Linked DNA regions of Homo sapiens: all the other regions are linked to region 1. Evidence: promoter capture Hi-C in 16 types of primary human blood cells and fetal thymus (Javierre and others, 2016). All regions are on one chromosome and are shown on one strand. The core of a region is centred on a gene start or on the middle of the fragment in contact, and the rest is flanking DNA. Distances in the headings are between cores, read along the strand shown.

The links. The method cuts DNA at HindIII sites, captures the fragments that hold promoters and counts their contacts. A CHiCAGO score of 5 or more calls a contact.
Region 2: a fragment that was not itself captured here is called in contact with the fragment with the promoter of C1orf21 in region 1 in 1 of 17 cell types (M1 macrophages); the score reaches 6.5 in M1 macrophages.
Region 3: a fragment that was not itself captured here is called in contact with the fragment with the promoter of C1orf21 in region 1 in 1 of 17 cell types (M1 macrophages); the score reaches 5.2 in M1 macrophages.
Region 4: a fragment that was not itself captured here is called in contact with the fragment with the promoter of C1orf21 in region 1 in 1 of 17 cell types (M1 macrophages); the score reaches 6.0 in M1 macrophages.
Region 5: a contact is called between a fragment that was not itself captured here and the fragment with the promoter of C1orf21 in region 1, in 5 of 17 cell types (megakaryocytes, M1 macrophages, M2 macrophages and 2 more). The highest score is 7.3, in megakaryocytes.

What each region holds. Positions count from the first base shown.
Region 1 is chr1:184,385,199-184,389,095 of GRCh38, reverse strand. It overlaps C1orf21 (chromosome 1 open reading frame 21), which reads right to left and starts at 2,067. Exons shown (of 6, transcript NM_030806.4): 1 at 1,728-2,067. C1orf21-DT (C1orf21 divergent transcript) reads left to right here and starts at 2,392. Exons shown (of 1, transcript NR_172919.1): 1 at 2,392-3,343. RefSeq lists silencers at 2,032-2,291, 2,322-2,431, 2,522-2,581. The HindIII fragment of the contact is 4,352 bases long and covers 1-3,758 here.
Region 2 is chr1:183,953,827-183,957,723 of GRCh38, reverse strand. It overlaps COLGALT2 (collagen beta(1-O)galactosyltransferase 2), which reads left to right. Exons shown (of 12, transcript NM_015101.4): 7 at 2,886-2,962. Among named protein-coding and RNA genes, the nearest start is that of COLGALT2, 82 kb to the left of the region's middle. RefSeq lists a silencer at 1,728-1,892. The HindIII fragment of the contact is 916 bases long and covers 1,222-2,137 here.
Region 3 is chr1:184,054,998-184,058,894 of GRCh38, reverse strand. The region is part of intron 3 of TSEN15 (tRNA splicing endonuclease subunit 15); the gene reads right to left. Among named protein-coding and RNA genes, the nearest start is that of TSEN15, 5.2 kb to the right of the region's middle. The HindIII fragment of the contact is 2,494 bases long and covers 700-3,193 here.
Region 4 is chr1:184,685,239-184,689,135 of GRCh38, reverse strand. No RefSeq gene overlaps it. Among named protein-coding and RNA genes, the nearest start is that of EDEM3, 68 kb to the left of the region's middle. The HindIII fragment of the contact is 2,057 bases long and covers 695-2,751 here.
Region 5 is chr1:184,656,828-184,660,724 of GRCh38, reverse strand. No RefSeq gene overlaps it. Among named protein-coding and RNA genes, the nearest start is that of EDEM3, 96 kb to the left of the region's middle. The HindIII fragment of the contact is 2,495 bases long and covers 796-3,290 here.

The DNA of each region.
Region 1 (3,897 bases), core at 818-3,317:
TCCCAGCATTGGTTTAACGCCTATAAATACACTCCGTTGTCCTATCACTGGTACTTCCTACTTTGTAAGTAGCAAAACAAAAATAGGTGATCCAATCCAAATTAATTTCCATGTCTGACAATTACATTTCCAAACAGCCAACATGGAACATGTTCTATTGATCCTACAATCCAGCTCTAGACAATATGAAAAAGGGGGGAAAACTCCAAATTCAGCATCTTGAACTTAAAAGACCCTTCAGAAACATCACCTTCTCCCCACAACAGTGCTGAAGTAGCTCAGGCCCACTCCACCTATGTTTGTTTCTATCCTGGTACATTCCAATTCTATCAAATCAAAAGGTTATTCCTATTAGGCAGAAGCTGAACCCATCCCCTTGAATAGGGAGGTGTTCATTACATCTGTCTGTGTAATGAACTTGTCATTTCCCCAAACGGTCTGGACAGTCTCCTACAAAAAAAAAAAAGAAAAGAAAGAAAAAAATACTCCATGGAATCTATGGTGTGTCAGTCCCCTTCCTAACATCTGAGTCAGACTACGTGTGTCTTTACTGAGGTTCTGGGTGCCCAGGGTGTATCACTTTCAGAATTGCTTCAGTAACTGAACTATGGCTGTCTTCCAGCCACGGACAACACAAGCACTATCTATTTTAAAACAATTTTCCTAACCCACCGGCAATGGAAGAGATCCCATAGGTCACCGACTTCCTATTGAAAACAAATTATTTCTCTCTCAAACTGCTTGCCGTCTCTCAGAATTAATGCGTGTTTATGTGTGCATATTTTTATCTTTGGCCATGCAACTCTTGGAGCAAAGAGGACCACCCCAAATTTTACCGACATGCCTGAGCCATTCAGAGCTTTAGAAGAGAAATGAACGAGTGCTGAGAGCCCTTAAGCCCAGGACTTCTCTCACACAAACAGTAAGTGGAAAGGAAAAAACAAAAACAAAAACAAAAACTAACCCTCCGTAGAGGGAGGGAGCAGGGTGGATGATAGGGAAAGGACATTAACCAGCAGACCAAAGGCAGCCGCGGCGGCGGCACTTCGCGAACTGCCTGCAGAGGAGAGTGAAATCTGTTTCGTGTACAATAACCAAGCACCCTCTGGCTGCCTCGCATGGGCACGAATAATAAATACACCGAGGTGGGCAAACAGATGCAACGAAACGAGCCACCCCAAAAAGGTCAAAACTTCAGAAATCCCGGGGGTCAAACCACCCACACAAACACATCAATCAGTCGGAGCGAGAGAAGGGACTTGGATACTTAGCAAAGGATCCTAAATTGTGTTTTTCCTTTCAAGCTCTGGCTTGCAAAGTACGGTGGCTACATGCAAAGCTAGAGGAGAGCAGGAAGGCTGAGGGCGGCAGGGTGCGGGTGGGAAGGGAGGGGTGTCTAACACCAGCCACCCAGGCCTCGATGTGACGAAAGTCGTCAGCAGCCCCGACCACATCCCAGCCCCTCCGCCCAGGCCGGCAGACGCCCCTCGCGGCTCCCCCACCCCAGCTTCCGTCCCTGGCAGCAACCCCGCCAGCCCCGCACCAGCAGCAGCCCCGGCCCGGGCCCCGCGCAGGCAGCGCCACGACCGCGGCTCCCATCCCTTCCGTGCGGCAGACACCCCGCAGGCCTCCCTCCCTGCCCACCCGGGGATGCCCGGGTAGCCGAGCCGGGGCGGGCTGCACCGCCAGCTCCCCCCGCCCCAGAGCAGGCAATGGCTCACACTTACCTTGGGCGTTCGCGGGGGGGCTGAAGGTGGCAAGCCTCCCGCCCCCCGCCCCTGTCCTCCTCGTCTTTTTTCTTCCTCCCTCCTCCTCTTCTTCCTCCTCCTCCCCACAGTGTGTCCGGGGCTCCCCCTCCTCCCCGCCGCTTGGAGTAAGAACCCAAAACCCCGAAGCCGGGCCCGCGTGCAAGCGTGCGGGAGGCGGCGGCGCGCGGCCAGCTCTCCAGTAACTGAGCGCGGCGCGCAGCTCCCAACTAAAGTGTGAAAGAAGCAGCGGCCGCGGCGGCCGCGGCACGGAACGTCCCCCCGGGAGTGGGCAGGGAGCGAGCGGGAGCTTGCGAGGAGCGAGCGAGGGAGGGGAGCTCCTCGCTCAGTCACTCACTCGAGGGGCGGGGGCAGCAGACACTCCCCCACCGCCGGCCCCTCCCCGAGCCTAGCTCCCGCGCGCGCCTGGCTCTCCTCCCCGGGGCGGGGCCTGCGGAGGCCGCCGGGGCGCAGCGCGCTGGGGAGCGGGTTGGGGGCTGCTAGGGCTGCGGGGCGGGAAGGAGGCGGCAGTGTGTGTGTGTGTGTGTGTGTGTGTGTGTGGGCAGGTGTGTGTGTGTGTGTACGTGTGTGCGCGCGCGCCCTGCAGCGGCCGGCCAGCCGGAGGGAAGACCCCGGCGGGAAGACTGCGTCCCGTCCGGCCTTCCCGGGCCTGTCACTTGGGCGGTGGCGTGGGAGCGGCGAGGCTGCTCGGGGGGCAGCCGGGTGGGCCCAGCTCTAGGGGAGATTCGGGTCAGCCCCTGAGCCCAGCCTCCCGGCTGTGCCTGCTGGAAGCAGACGGAGGGAAGGCCGGGCGTCTTTGGCCCACCGCGCGGCCGCTCCCCTCCCGGGCCAGGCTGAACGGGCGGGCGCAGCCCAGAGGCCCGGGCTCTGCCACCGATCCGCCTCCATACTGACCCGAGCTGCGGCGCCTGCAAGATTAATGAAGCATCCGCGATTCGGTAGAGGCGGCACGGGGAGGAAAGACACAAGATCGTGCTGCCCCCCTCTCCCCACCCTTCTCAGCCTCCTAGGACCTAAAGGCGTAGGCTGCGTCTGCTGGGCGCGTCCGGAGTGGTCCAGAGAGATCGCCATCCACCACTGCATCCGTCCAGTTCTTTGTGGACCCTCACAGAAGCTCAATCAATTTCCCACCCTCTGGAAAAGGGTATTTTTCTCTTCCCTGGCATATTGGGTGTTTCTTGTGTGCACCTAATTGATCTTTTTCCATTGATAGCCTTTGGATGTCTTTTGTGCGGCTTCCCCGCGCTTCACTGCTCCCTCATTGCCTTAGACACGCGAGGAATGTCAGGCCCCCAGAGTGAGAACACCCAAGAAAACAATAGGGGCAAAAGATCCTCCCTGGGCCTCGCGGATTATGCACAAACCAGATCATTTCCCACATTCGGCCAGGGTGAAGATGGAAAATGGAAAAGAACGCCATCAGAGTGGTGACACTGACGAGAAAAGCCAATTCATAATTTAGTTTAATGAAATGAGTTAGTAATCAACCACTAATGTCTAGGAAATTGGCCTTTTTTGAAAACTGGTTTTCCCTTTCTCCACCCCTTTTTTTTTCAAATTAAAAGACTAGTATCCCACTGTTGTTGTTTTAATTTTTATTGTTTTCAGGGATGGGGTCTGCTGCCAAGGCTGGATTCGAACTCCTGAACCCAAGAGATCCTCCTCAAGGGATCTTCCCCATCTCAGCCTCCCAAGTAGCTGGGACTACAGGCCAATTCCACCGCACCCTGCCTAACATCACATTGTTCAGGAACCTCAACTTACATTCCATTTTTACAAAATATCCATATTCTGGTTCATACTTCTTGGAGCCCAAATTTTTTGTAGTCTAGCCTCTTGGAAAGGAGCGGTTAAGAAGGGAGGGTAGATAAATTGAGATTTCAATCAGGGGCAGCCAGCCCCATCCCTTTCACCACTGGTGACTTGTTTCATTTCTTCTTTCTTTCCTCATCTGTAAAGGCATTGATAATGATCGTTCCTACCTCATAAGCTTGTGAAAGTAAAAAGAAAATAAAACGAGGTGGCAATGCATGTAAAACACTTTGCATAGTGCCTGACACATGGGTGAGAACTCAATAAATAGAAGCTATTGTTTCAGACTTGATTATTTTAAACTCAAATTTGGTAGAAT
Region 2 (3,897 bases), core at 430-2,929, 430 kb after region 1:
CCTGTTAAGCCCTTAAATATAGTGTTGAGTGTGACTGTTACAGTTGAGAACAGAGCTGTGCGGCGGAAGATTATTTTGACAACAGTGAGCATGATTAATTAGAATAGGAAAGACTGAGAGCATGTAAGTGTTTGAAAAAAATCAAAAACAGCCCAGGCATAGTGGGTAAGGACCCAAGCTAGGCTGCAACAATGGAAGAAGTTCAGGAGAAATTATAGAGAAGAAGCGGTAGGATTTGATCCAAGTACAATCTATCATGTACTATTCCAGACATGACTGGGCTTAAATGAGCTACTCTGGACCCAGCCCAGTTGCCTGGTTGGCTAATACCAGTGGCCACCAAGGACTAGCTCTGGGGATGATGTGGAATGGGAATTAAGAGCTCCGGTAAAGGAGTAGGACCTAGGTTCAAATACCAGCTCTATCAGCTCTGTGATCTTGGGCAAGTTATTTAATGTTTGTTTCCTTGTCTATAAAAATAGAGACACTCATACATATCCCATGGTACATGTGAACATTAAATATATGTGATTATATATGTCAAGTATATATGTGACATATATATATATCACTCACAGAACTCTGGGTTCTGTGAGTGATAAGACCTCTGTAACAATGGCTGTAATTATTCACATTAGATCTTGAAACTATCCCGAAAGCAATGAAGCCCATTGTCCCAAGTGGCAGTACAGGGAAGGATTATTTCCAGGAAGGGATTTAATGAGAGACCAGATCAATTATGAAAGATGGAGTCAGAAATGACTACAAACAGAAGCCAGGATATACCTAACCTTCAAGTCTGTTGTCAGCAAAGATACATCCTTCTCCCCACAGACTAAGTTTCTTAGGTCTGACTCACTGTATCACTTCCTGTTTTCCTCTGTGGCTTACTGCTGCCTTCAGTGGCAAAACCCAAGCACACTTCTCTGATATTTTTGCTCAGTGATGACTTTCGGGAGCCAACCACTTGTGGCTTTTTTTTTGCAACACTTGTCCTGTGAATGCAATGACTGCCTATGTTTGATGGAAACAAAGTGGCTAAAAGCAGTCTCTTTGGCTGAAATGTTAAAGCCACACAGGCCATGTGAGTCCAAAGGAGACCAGCAGCCTAGAATGGGTAACTCAAAATATAACATCTTCCCAAGTCTCAGGCCCCAGGAGGGAGAGTGAGACAGCTCCTCAGACAATATCATGAACAGGAGGAAGCTGGTACATTAAGCTTCTTTCTCTTAAAAACCTAACCGTGTACCTGGTGGACCCTCCCTATTGATTTTAAAAGAAACTAATAAGGAGTGGAGTGGAGCAGAAAGGACCAGAATATTCTCGGCTGCTATTGGGAAGACAAAGACATGCACTGCATATGCACAGAAATATGACTGTAAGTGTCAAGTTTGAAGTAATGAGACCAGCTCTTGTGTTTGGCCTAAGAACTCTGTCTCACTACGTTCTAGAATTTCACATCATTCGCCAATAAGTAAAATTGGATGTCAGGATTTCTCTATAATATTTCAGTGAAGTTAAACAGATCATACCCTTTGGACAGTATCTCAGGATGGGCAAAGTTATGCTGGAATATAAAAATCTGATTGGCTTCATACAACAATGGCTTATTTCTTGCTATCCAAGTCTGCAGAGCAGGTGTCTTTCCTGGGAGCTGCCCTTCATGTGTTGATGCAATGTTCCAGGCTGCTTCCAATTCACATCTGCTATCCATATCCACACATGCCGCTATGAGCACAGTGGTGGGACCAAGGGCAGTGTCGGGGGAGCCCTTGGAGAGTGGAGCAGCAGCACCACACTATAAACTTTCCCCAGAAAGTCATATAGCCCTGAGTAACTTCAAGGGCAAGAGAGTGTATTCCTCTCCTGTGCCTGGAATAGAGGTGAACAGATACGTTACAGTAGTCATGGCCATTACCCATAGTTCTTTCAACAACCCAGTTACCAGCTATCATTTTAAATTTTCTTTGTATTATCCCTTTAAGGAAAATCAAATGAGGACTTTGAATTTGTATAATACTAAACATTCTTCGAGGACTTTGAATTTTTATAATACTAAACATTCTTCAAGGCCTTTTCAGGTTTCTTAACCAATATTACTTCCAAACTTTAAAATACATAGTTTGCAAAGGAAGCTTTTTTAGAGTATCAAATAAATAAAACTTTCATTATTGAAGAAGTAGTGTCACTCCCAGCTGGAATCTTCCCATTAGACATGGGCCAGCTCTCTGTGGTTAGATCCTGTTAAAGCAATGGACCTTTTGCGCACCCACACCTAAACCTGCCCAGGTGGGATAAAAATAGTCCCCCACTTTGACAATTTTAAATGCAGAGAAAAAAGTGTTTTTCAGTAAAAATTCTAGCCTATTTCTGAGCTCTTTCATCATGGGCCATAGTAAGTAATAGCTAAGAGTTGTTGAGCATTTACTGTGTTAAAGTGGTGAGTGCTTTGCACGCAGGTCTCATTTAAATTTTATAACACAGATACACTTCTATTATCCCAATTTTACACCAAAGAAATGAGCTTAAAGAGGTCCCCTAACTCTCCTACTCCTTCGCAAACCAAGGTTTGGACCCAGATCATCCGACTCTGGAGCCCTTCCTCTTAACCATTATCCTAAACTGCCTCCCAAATATTCTTGAAATAAGTCTTAAGGGAAGTGGAGCAAATGTTGCAATCTCCATATAATCAAATGCTCCTGAAACCAGTGCCCTGACCAGCAGGGTTCCTGTGTGGCTACTCAATCCTGGAGAACTGCTGCCATTGTCCCCTGCCCTGTATTTCCAAGTTATATTCCAACCCTAGAGATCAGGCATGCGGATGGAATTCTGATTTCTGACCCTTTCATTAACAAAGCACTCTGCATGTTTCTTGTGTCTTCCAGTTGACCGTCCTCCAATGGAACCCTCCCAGTATGTCTCAGTTGTCCCTAAATATCCAGACAAGATGGGATTTGATGAGGTAGGAAAGGTGTCTATATGTGTGTGCACATGCACGCGTGTGCAGGCTTGTGTGTTCATTTTGGAACACAAGCCTGAGCTTGCATCTGAGAGCCAGCAAGACTGGCTTGGCTGCTGAAATGGCTCTGAGGTCTTGGGAAAACTACTTGGTTTTTGTTGTTCTCAGTTTCCTTATCTTAAAAAAAGGAGTATCATGATAAATGTAGTTAATCATTTACTTAGAAAGAAATTACCATTTAGTAATGAAAGTGAATTTGATATTTTCTAGGAGCAGATATTGTGATATTTTTAATCAACCTTTTTATCAAAATTCAAGAGTAAGATACAGAGGATACATGTTTTAGATATGGAGGACTTTAATTTTATTCTGCCACATCTGAGCAAGTGGAAACTATTCTGGAACTTTCTGTGCTTTCTTTTATTTCTACTATTCTTCCATGGAAAAAGGTTAGAGAGCAGGGTTGAGAGGACAAAGAAAGAAAAAAAAACATATTTGTTCTAAAATTCTGCCTTTCAGCAGGCAAGAACTTCCTAATAATATTCTAAGGGTAGTATTTATTATTAAGTTTTAGTTGTATAAAGAATGAAGCAGAAATATTAAGAGGTTCCCCTCCTGGTAATATGCGTAACAGATACTTGGCAGGGATTGTGACTCCACATCACTGACTCTCTCATGGGTGTCCCCTGTAGCTGCTGAACAGTATTCAGAAGGAGCTTGGTGGTCTAGAAGCTAGGGCAGTGCCTCAGGAGTCCACAAACTGAGAACTCTTCCATGGACTCTGGATATGTAACAGATCAGGCTTCGAGCTTGGTGCTAATTGCCACTGATTAATCGAAGGAAGATGCCTTATTTATCACATGGTAACATATACATACATATATGTACATGTCCCCAGAGTACAGCCTTCTCAAAGGGATTTGACGCTAGAACTGGGA
Region 3 (3,897 bases), core at 697-3,196, 330 kb after region 1:
AAAAAGCCCAAGCAATATTATCTGACAAATAATAATATTTAAAAGTGAAAACAGAATCGTTAATTTATGTAGATGTTTTATCACTGAATAAGTAAAAGCTGTTTTCCCTCTTAAATAAAAAGTATTTTTTCTTTCATGGTGAGTTGCCCTCACATCTTCCCACCAAATACTTTTAGGACATGTCCCAATGAATTTCTTTGCTATACAAGGTTATCAGAGACTCAACATCAATCATTTTCTTCTCTGTGTTACTAACACAGAAAAATTCCCACATTAACTATGAAAGGCTGGAATTGCAGCATTACTGTTAGATATATAACATTTTATATTATAAAATACACTAAAAGTAAAAATAGATAAAAGTATGCCTACTACCTAAAAGACTGCCCTGTTAAAGACTGAATAATGAAATCACACATACACACATATACACCCACACATTTCCATTTGTTAAAAAGTTATTTGCATAGTTTGAGTTGAGAAAATGTTATGCACTAAAAGGCATATAAATCTAGTATGTATCAGGCCTCATTTGTGCTACATTCTATATTAGTATTCTACTGTATAATATAGTTAAGAATATTTATATAAAAACAAGACATAAAGATTTAAGCTCTCTCAGTTATTAAATGCAACAGCATCAAAATGGCTTACCAAGTTATCATTCCAACTAATTCTACTTGAAGAAGAAAACAAGCTTTAGCCATTCAAGCTAGAAAAGCATTAATTACCACCTGGAAAATACTAGAAATTAACAATGGAAACAAATTTGTACTTCTAGACTTATGAAATGATTTTGATTAAAATAGGCTATTGCTTTCATTAATTTTATTTTTTAGGAATAAATGCAGGTTAATTTCAAATAGTAGCTCCTTGTCCAAACAAATAATATAACATTAATACTAGCTAGGACAATATTTGTTACAGTAATTAAAAGACAGAAGTAATGAGTTCTGAGGAATGAATTAAGACTCTTGGATATAGGATGGCTTGGAAATCATGCTAGTAAAAACCGGAAAGTACTAGCGATTAAATCTGATGTCAATGCTAACAACTATTTGTAATTCTCAAACACAGAGAAAACAGTAAGGAGCTTCTCAAAGAAGCATATGAATAGACTGACATATTAAAAAACAATTCTCATTATGAATAATAAATACAAAAAATACTTCATAGAAATCTGCAAATTTAGTTTAATATGGCTTTATGAAATATGCACAATGAAAATAACCAGTTACAGCAGCTTTAATTTAGAAGGGATCTTGCATGTACTGGTAATCTAAATCCCTCAACAACAAAATAAGACGAGGAAACTGAAACCCAGAGAAATTAGGTGTGTTGCTAAACATCAAACAAAATGTTAAGTGTCAGTCCCAAGACTAGAACCCAGGTCTTAAGACTTTATAGTCTGGGGCTCTTTCTACTAGACTGCTATGTATTCAGTCATAGTCAGCTAGAAAAAATGTTAAGTATTCATCAACGGTATTCATGCTGGAATTTAAGAGGCTCTGCTCTTTTCCCTACTTATATGCCACCCAAATAGAGCTGTGTTTTCATTTGTTCATTCTTCCCATACCCCACTCTCAGAGGTTTACAGCACCCCTTTACATGCTCAATATTACTCTCCTCCACTATCCTCTTGAATCCATCCTTCCTCATCTCTCAAGAATCTTGCTCCATCAATAATTGTCATCTCTTTTCTATTTTCAGACTTTCTGTAGGACAGCTCACGTGGCAGCTGGCTTCCTTTATAGTAAGCAAGAGAGAGTGCCCAAGATAGAAGCCACAGTCTTTTGTAACCTAATCTTAGAAGTTACATTCCTATCATTTTTGCCAAATTTTATTCATTAGAAAGAAGTCACTGAGTCCAGGTCACACTCAAGGGAAGAGAGTTACATAAGGGAGTGAATACCAGAATTAGGAGAAGCCATCTTAGAAGCTGCCTGCTACAGCTTCTAAAGAAGAAATGCATAAGGGAGGCTTGCTAACCAGATACCAAGACTTCTTACCAAGCAAGCGATTAAGAGATATGGTATTGGCAAAAGGACAGATAAACTGGCTAATGGAATATAATAGAGAACCCAGAAACAAATTAATGCATGTTTGGAACTTTGGAAAGTAGCAGAAGTGATATGTCAGATAGTGAGGAAAGGAGGGACTATTCAGTAAATGGAGGTAGAAAAAGTGGTTATCCACATGACAATGGTATCCCTAACCGCCTCTCACACCATTAAAAACAAGAACAATAGAACTCTTAGTGAAAATATAAGTATTTTTTAGACCGTTAGATAGAAAATATTTCTTAAACTAGACACAAAGACGTTGATTATAAAAGATGGATAAATATGATTATATTCAAATTAAGAACTGTTACTCATTGAAAGACATCTTAAGACAGTGAAAGACAGACTTAAAAACTGGAAAACACAATAAAAAAACTATTAGGTCAAGAATATATAAAGAATTCATACAAGTCAATGAGAAAACTAAAAACAACCCAACAGGCAAAAGATATGAACAGATATTTCTTATAAATAATACATATATAAAGAAATATTCAGTATTATGAGTAATAAGGGAAATGTAAATTAAGACCAAAATAAGAATAATCCATTCCATTGGCAAAAATTTAAAAGTCTGACAATACTAAATGTGAGAGACAATACAGCTCCAAAGGATCTTATTTACACTGCAGGTGAAAAGTAAATTGAGGCAACCACTTTGAAAATAGTTTGAAATTATCTCCTAAAGTTAAACATTAGCAACACTCCATCATCGAGGGAGTGGATGTAAAAATGGTGGTATAATCACACAATGGAATGTTATGTGGCAGCTCAAAAAATGCACAAGAATGGATGAATTTTAGTAATATAATATTAAGTGTATAAGGTCAGCCTTAAAAGATAAGATTTTTTAATTAAAGTTAAAAACATCTAAAATTTAAAAATTCCCAATGTACATGGAATTCAGAATGAGTTACCTCAGGTCAGTGAAAGCACGTTAAGGAAGGGACTTATAAGATTAGATGTTAGTTATTATCAAGAATCTAGTTTTGCTTTGGGTGATGGGTACAGAGATACTTATTACATTATTAAAAATAACTAAGTAAATAAATAAAAACCAAGCATGAACTAATAATGAGAGTATGTCATGAAACAAAGACATGTTTAATCCAATGCTGTGTACCTAAGCTTTTTAAAAAAAGGTCCTAAAAAAAGTCTCTTTTTTAAAGCTTTTAAAAAAAGCTACATGAAAATTTGATTTCAGCTTGCATGTTAATCATGCTTTTCACCAACTGCTATATAAAGTATAATTTGTATTACATGGTACATCTTATAACAGCTGTTATTTCATATGTAATGGTCTTGCTTCCTTACCAAGAATATAAATATTTCTACCATACATACTGTCTCTGAAAAAGTACTGACCATAGAGTAAGTGCTAAATAAATACTTGTTGAATGCTTGATATACTTTGTATATTTGTTCCTGCCCAAATCCCATGTTGAACTGTAATCCCCAATGTTGGAGGTGGGGCCTGGTGGGAGATGTTTGGGTTATAGGGGTAAATCCTTCATGGCTGAGTGCTGTCTTCAGGACAATGAGTTCTCGTGAGATCTGGTCATTTAAAAGTGTGTGGAACCTCCCCCTCAACACTCTCTCTCACTCCTGCTTTTGCCATATGATGTGCCTGCTCTTGCTTCACGAACTTCCTCCATGATTATAAGCTTCCTGAGGCCTCCCTAGAAGCCGAGTAGATGCCAGCACCATGCTTACTGTAAAGCCTTCAGAACTATGAGCCACTTAAACCTCTTCTTTTTTTTTTAAGAAATTACTCAGTCTCAGGTATTTCTTTATAGCAATGCAAGAATGGCCGAATACAACACTCATATTTAAC
Region 4 (3,897 bases), core at 474-2,973, 300 kb before region 1:
AGTTAAACAAAATATATGTGACAGCAGTGGTCTCCAGTTTGCAACCTCCGAGCTGTCAGATCCTTACCTCCACATGTGTATGTACAAGGAAGACCCCATTCGTTTTTAGAGGATCATTCACCAATTTCCACTTCCAAATTTATCATATGCACCATAGACCTCTTTCAACTGTTGAGATTTTCATATGTCTTAATGGCCCTGGTGGTGATTAAGTGGCTTTTTAAATGTAGATTATTCATTTAATCAAGTAGGTCAATGGAAAGTGGACATCCATTCATTCACCTTCCTACAATTACTCTTTTTAAAAAAATTTTTGAGACAGGGTCTCACTATGTTGCCCAGGCTGGAGTGCAGTGGCTGTTCACAGGTGAGAACATAGTGCACTGCAGCATTGAACTCCTGGCCTTAAGCAGTCCTTCCACATCAGCCTCCCAAGTAACTGGGATTACAGGCACCTGCCACCATGCCTGGCTTCACCTTTTTACATTTTCTAATGTCAACCTTTGAGACCATCTTTAACCTGAGGCAATGAAAGTTTGTCTCTTGAATCCAGTTCAGGTCTTTCTTCCATCAACTGGTCTGGCCAGACTGCTGACTCAACTTCACCCCACCTTCCTTCTGTGGTTCCTGGTGGCTCGCTGTCTCCAGGAGCCCCATCCAAGCCACATACTCCCCTAGGGTGTATCTGTAAGCTTCTGCTCAGCTCAACAGTGGTTCCTTCAAGTTCCAGCAACACCTCAAAGAGGACTGGTCCAGGCCAGCTCTCTAATAAGCTATATGAACACTGGTATCATCCTTGCAGTCCTAATAATAAAAAGAACCAACACTTTTTCTTTTTCGAGACAGAGTTTTACTGTGTCATCCAGGCTGGAGTGCAGTGGTGCAGTCTTGGGACACTGCAACTTTTGTCTCCTGGGTTCAAGCAGTTCTCCTGCCTCAGCCATCCTAGTAGTTGGGATTATAGGCGTGCGCCACCATACCCTGCTAATTTTTGTATTTTTAATAGAGATAGGATTTCACTATGTTGACCAGGCTGGTCTCGAACTCCTGACCTCAAGTGATCCGACCGCCTCAGCCTCCCAAAGTGCTGGGATTACAGGTGTGAGCTATCGCACCTAGTCAGAACCACCACTTTTTGAACCCTCACTAGGCATTAACATATACTGAGTGCTCTATATATGTGATTCCTTATCCATATGGCAACCTTGCAAAATATCTATAATTTCATTTAAGTGGCTTGCCCAAAGCCACAGAGCAAGTTAGATGGGCCTGGGATTTGAACCTAGATTAGCCTGATTTCTGCGATACAGACTGACTCTCCTAACTATGCACAATTATCTATTTGAACCAAGTGGGTGTTATATGGCTGCTATGAAGGCTGACTCAGATACCCTTGCAAACAACATTCACCTGCCAACCAGCCAGCTACCAAAGGGATCTGGGAGTTGAAGGTACTTAAAGGACCTGCAGTGGTTGTAGTGGACAAATGGACAAAATGTAGTAAAGAAGATAGAAAATAAAGTAAATGAAAAGGACAATGAGTTTATGAAGAAAAAATTATGGTGAGGGGCTAGAGAGTGACTCCCCAAAGGGGTGAGAATAGGAGAAAGGACTGCTTACAGCTTCAGGCCTTATGGTCTCTTGAGTCAGAGGATACTTATCAGACTTCAAAATGGTAGATACAAGAGACAAGTCTTCTTGTTTCCAAGGCAACTACCAATTTCTCTGATCCTTGGCTCCAACATTTCATCATCTCCTGTCACAATGGCCCCACCTAGGAAACATCTAAAAACCACGCCAGAAACCCATGTATGTGTTTTACCAGCTTATCACTGGCCTGGGAGCCGCTTGAGAAAAAGGAAAAGTTTGGCCTCATCACTATTGTCTCACCTCTGCCAGTGTCTAGCTCTTGAAAGGCACTCACTAAGCTCTTGTGGGGTGAGTTGAATGAAACACCTGGTTTGGAATGAGTGGATGTTTTCTGTCACTTCCCCAAATCACATTTATCCTGAAAGGGCTAGGATTTGCAATCACTGAGAAATGTCAAAGAAACGATGTGCCAATTTTGAAGACAGTTGTATGAAGGTAGCCCTAAAAATCTTTTTTTATTGGAAGTAAACATTGAAGAGACCGCAATTCATGTGAGGGTCTCAGAATTTTAGAGCCAAAAGATTTTTTAAATTGTCACGCCATTGATTCTCCTCATTGGACAGAGAAGACGACAGATGCCAGAGGTGGGAAGTGACTTGACCAAGGTCACACATCTCCAGAACTGAATGTGCTCTTAGGCAGCGTGAAGGTTCTGGCACAGCTGTTTCACAGTCGTCCTCAGGCCTTACAGCCTGAGTTCCTCCACTCTGTTCAAGTTAACATTCAGCCAGAGGGATAATTACTAACTTCAGAACTTCAGAGCTGCCCTTGACATGCCTTGGCAAAACTCCAGGGCTCCACTGAATACAGTGTAAAAACTACTGACTTAGATAATGTATTGTTCCTCATTTAAACTTTTAGCACATTCAAGCAAAAATGTCTTTTAATTCCCTGAAAACTGGCTATTCTGATTAGCACCATTTATTCTCTTCCTTTCCTGATGAGTAAACTCATTAATGAAAGAATACATACTGTACTTTCTTTTGTGTGTTCATCTGAATTAACACAAGTGTGGGCAGAGCTCAAAATGCTGAGACCAAGATACAGATCCTTTGCCGGGTGGGCCCTCTTGTGGGTCTCAAAGCCAAGGGTTCCCAAGCTTTGTGGTGATGGCAAAAATGGTCCTCTTTAGACCAAAATCACTGAATGTGACATTCTAAATTTGAAATTCTGAGTAAGAGCTACAGGAAAGAATGGTAACCTGTTTATCTCGTATTGGTAAGGCAATAATGGAAAATTCTAGGCTAACCAAGTGAGAGGCGTCTCATTTTAAGCCAGTACTTTCTAAACCTCTGTGAGTCTGAGCATGGTGGCTCACACCTGCAATCCCAGCACTTTGGGAGGCCAAGGCGGGTGGATCACCTGAGGCCAGGAGTTCAAGACCAGCTTGGCCAACGTGGTGAAACCCCGTCTCTATAAAAATACAAAAATTAACCGGGCATGGTGGTGGGCACCTGTAATTCCCAGCTACTCAGGAGGCTGAGGCAGGAGAATTGCTTGAACCCAGGAGGCAGAGGTTGCAGTGAGCCGAGATGGCACCACTGCACTCCAGCCTAGGCGACAGGGGTTGTGGGGGGGACAAAAACAAAATCAATCCTCTGCGAAACTCTCTACTATCTTTGTAATAATAATGCTCATTTATTGGCTGTTTACATTTATCAGGTACTTAGAACTTATAGTTTTGTAAGACCTGTGTGAGACAGATACCTTCGTTATTCCCATTTTATTGATAAGAAAACAGGCTTAGCAATGGAGTTTTAACTGAAATCAAAGAAATACATTGGCTAAATTAAACAGGCAAGTGTGTGAGGGTAAATGCAGGAAAAAGAGAAGGCTCCTGGAGGGTTCTAGTGGTGGTACCAAGGATCTGGGGGAGGGCAGTTGACATTTTCTCAACCTTTATTATGCATAACAGAAGTCACATGTATCCTATAAGTATGAAAATATCGTGTATCAACACAAGAAAAAGAGGACAGACCCTGGCGCCAGACTGCTGAGCTTAAAATCCCAGTTCCAGCCCTTACTCTGTATGACCTTGAAATTGGTCTCTCAGTTTCCTCATCTGTGAAGCGGGGATAAAAATAGAACCTGTTTCAAAGGATGGCTGTATTCAAAGCAGGTGGCTCACCGCCAAACTCACTGTGAGAATGCAGCACAATTGCTACCATCGGCTATTGTATAAAGTGCCACATGCAAATATGTTTTCAGTCCGCTCCTCCTACTGTCCCTCCGGATTGCTGTCCTTGA
Region 5 (3,897 bases), core at 794-3,293, 270 kb before region 1:
CCCTTTCTCAGCATTTTTTCAAAGGGGGAATGACTGCCTCTTTCTTGGGGAATGCCATTTTACACACACAGGTGGGGAGTGGGTGGGACAGCCACCTCAAGCTGGTTTCTCTTCAGCAGATTCTGGGTGGCTTAATCTTACAAAATGGTTTAGGCAGAGCTGCCCTAGGCCAGTCCATTTCTTTCTTACTGTGTCATACATGGGATTTGGTCCTGTAGCACTTCTTTCCAGCTCTCTACATCTTGCAAATTATGCTTTAAAAATCCTCATGCGTTTGATATAGGGTGCATTCTAAATCATTCAGAAAAGGAAAACATTTCTCCTATTTTTCTCTTTCCCTCCCTCCTCACCATAAAACAAACATGAAATCTCCAGTCAGAAGAAAACATAACCCAGTCTACAGAAATCTGAGCTCTGGCACAAGCAGACACATGTTAGCATCACCCTGCAGAACACTCAGCTTCTGAGGCAAAAATATTTCTTTTGGGAGAGGGATGATTTTACTAGGTTTTTTCTGAATAAACTTTATGAAACCACACGGTTTCTTCATATGGTTTTCCCAGAATAAAAGGACAGTCTACCAAAAGTGAATTTGAGTTTCAGTCTTTTCAGGAAACAGTGGCTTGCATTTTAAAATCATTGTTTTCTTCAGCTTTTAAATTAGTTAAAAATTAGTTAAAAAACAAATTAGGAAGAAAATTCTAGCTACAGGATTCCATAAGAGATACACATAACTGTGAAAATAAGAAAAAAATTCCCTATGAATAAATTGAGAATAACTTGAGTGGGAAAGCTTTAAAAGGTTTAAAACAGAAGAAAACTATCATGCAAGCATACTAATACATATTATTGCAAAAATGTTTAAGAAAGAATGAGCAAAGAGAACAATGTATCATAATAGTAATAATATTTGACCAAGGAGGGCTTATTATAAAAATACAAGAATATAAGAATGGTTCAATATTAATAAATATATTAATGAAATTCATTATATCAGTATATTAAAGCACATTATTAGTCAAAAAACTAAGTAAAGTTATAAATAGAAAAGTATGAAAATATGATAATGATGAACAAATATCAATAGCAAACATCATCATAAATAATGAAATGAGAATACCATTTTCATTAAAATCAAGAACAGAAAAGACATGCTCATTATCCCCAAAATTCAACATTAGTTAATTCTAGTAAATGCAAGAAGGCAAAAATTGAAATATTTTGCATAAATATGGAAAAAGAAGAGATGAAAGATCATACTTTAGTAATGTAATTTTATACCTAGAAAATTCAAGAAATATCATAATATTAGAATTAATATGAAAATTTTACAGGATATAAATATAGACCTGAAAGGCACAGGAGCCATATGAAGTTAGCTATAATATTTTATCAAATGATCTAAAGCAAGATCAGAAAAGTAATCAAAATATATAGTATGGAAAGGAAAACTTCACACCATAAAAATGTCATTTTCCTCAATAGTAACATGTATAATTAATGGAATTTTAATTTAAGTGGAATTTAAGTAAGGTTTTTATTTAATTAGATACAGAATTTTTTAAGATTCATGTGGAAGACTATGTATGTCCAAGAATACACATAAAATAATGAGGAGAGAGTAGCAAAGGAGGACTTTACTACCAGTTCAACTACTGGAAGTCTGTTCTATAGAAATAAAGCCACCAGTATAAGGATATTCACTGCAGCATTGCTTGTGGTGGCAAACATCAAGAAACAAACTGAGAATTCATTGAAAGGGGAATGGGTAAAATCATGGCATATTCTTAACCATGTAATGTTGGGCACTATTTAAATAGAGCTTTACCAATTGATTTGGAGAGATTTTCACAAAACGTTTTTAAGTGATAGAACAAACTTCAGAGAATGTATAGGGAAAAAACATTTTTGTAAAACAAATATTGACAACCCTTAAATACATGTATACATGTTTTTATATTGTTACATGAACATGAGAATGTTAGAAAAACTACACAAGGGGTTATTAACTGAGCATCTGACCTTATTGCATGTTCTAATTATATATATATATATACGTTCAAACACAAAAAAGTATAGAGAAAGAGACAGATAATCTGAAATCCCACTACCTGGAGATAACTACCATGAGTATTTTAGAGTTCATCTTTCATACATCCCTTTGTGCATATTCACGATTTTATGTGGACAGAGTGAATGCTGTTTTTTAAATCATGAATTCCTTTACATATAAAGAAAATAAAATAAATCTAGTTTCATTTGGGGGAGTAAATTCCAATAAACTCTCACATTGAGTGAGATTCTACTATGTGAGTAGAATTCTGGAGTAAAAGGAGATGCTGAGAAGTGACGGCTCTTGTCAGTTAATTACGTACATTTGAGCAAGTCATTTCAATTCTCTGGGCTCCCATTCCTCCCATAAAATGAAGGTGAAGTGGATGAGCTCTTAGCTTCCTTTCTGTTCCATCCAATACAGGAATATCTGATGCTCCTATATTGTTAGCTGTGAGAAAATCAGAATGATGGACAGGAGGGAAAACACAGGCTCTAGAATCAGCACTGAGGTGAAATACCAAGTTTGTTATGACTGCACATCCTTGGGCTAGAGAAGCAAATTCTCTAATGAGGCTCTTTGCTTGAAAAATGGAGAACTAACAATTGCATTACAGAATTGTAAGGACTGACTGGAAAATATACATAAAGGATTAAGCATACATTATATATCTGGAATTATATATAATATAATACATATATTATATATATTATATATAAGCATATATATATATCATGCTTAGTGCTTTATGTATATGTTCCATGCTTAGTGCTTTATTTATATATCCACATATATACATGTGTGTATATATGTAAATATACATAGCATATAAACATTTATATATAAATATTATATATTATCTGAGTTATATAATATATAATGTACAATGCTTATATATTACATGCATAGCAAGAAATATACATAACATATATGTACATATGTCTATACATATGTAAATAAACATAGCAGCACTCTTTTGGATCTAACACTAATTAAGAGACAAAATAATTTTTAATAAACAAATTAAAATAATAGACTTTATATATAATTTCCAAAGGGCTGCTTTGTCACTTAAAGTGAAACATAGTTTAAAAATAAGACATGAAACTCCATGGGGGGAAAATAAGCAAGGATGAAACGGCAGAATAACTTTGCAGCTCTTTCAGCAGGCTCATTTCTGAGCACGGTCTATTTCCTAAACAGTTTACTAATGGAACGTTTCTATTTTGGAGAAGCTTGTTGAAGTCCACCCAAACAGGTGCTACTGAATAAAGCCTTCCTGGGTTTAAGCAAAATGAAAAGAGGCTGTATTTTCTTCCCTGTGCGAATGCTTCACATTTTCCATAAATCAAAAGGGAAAAAAAAGTTGTGAGTGAAATGTCATTAACCAGGACATTTTAGAAATGCAGAACCTGGACTTTTGATTGCACACCATAGATAAAAATGCAGGAAACCATAGTTTCCAACTCATGGCACCATCATTTTGTATCTTTGGGGCTATAACTTGCCCTGGGAAGAACTATTTCATTTCTCAACAATTCTAACTCTTCTTCTGAGGAATCCCAGTTACTACTGAGAATGAGTCCAATAACTTCCTTCAATGTTAAGTCAGTGATCCAGCCAGAATCAGAAATATTCTTACAGAGTAAAACAATCATTAGAAAGTTTCAGGCCGGGCATGGTGGCTCACGCCTGTAATCCCAGCACTTTGGGAGGCCAAGGCGGGTGGATCACCTGAGGTCAAGAGTTTGAGACCAGCCTGGCCAACATAGTGAAACCCTGTCTCTATTAAAAGTACAAAATTTAGCCAGGCCTGGTGGTGCAGGCCTGTAATCCCAGCTACT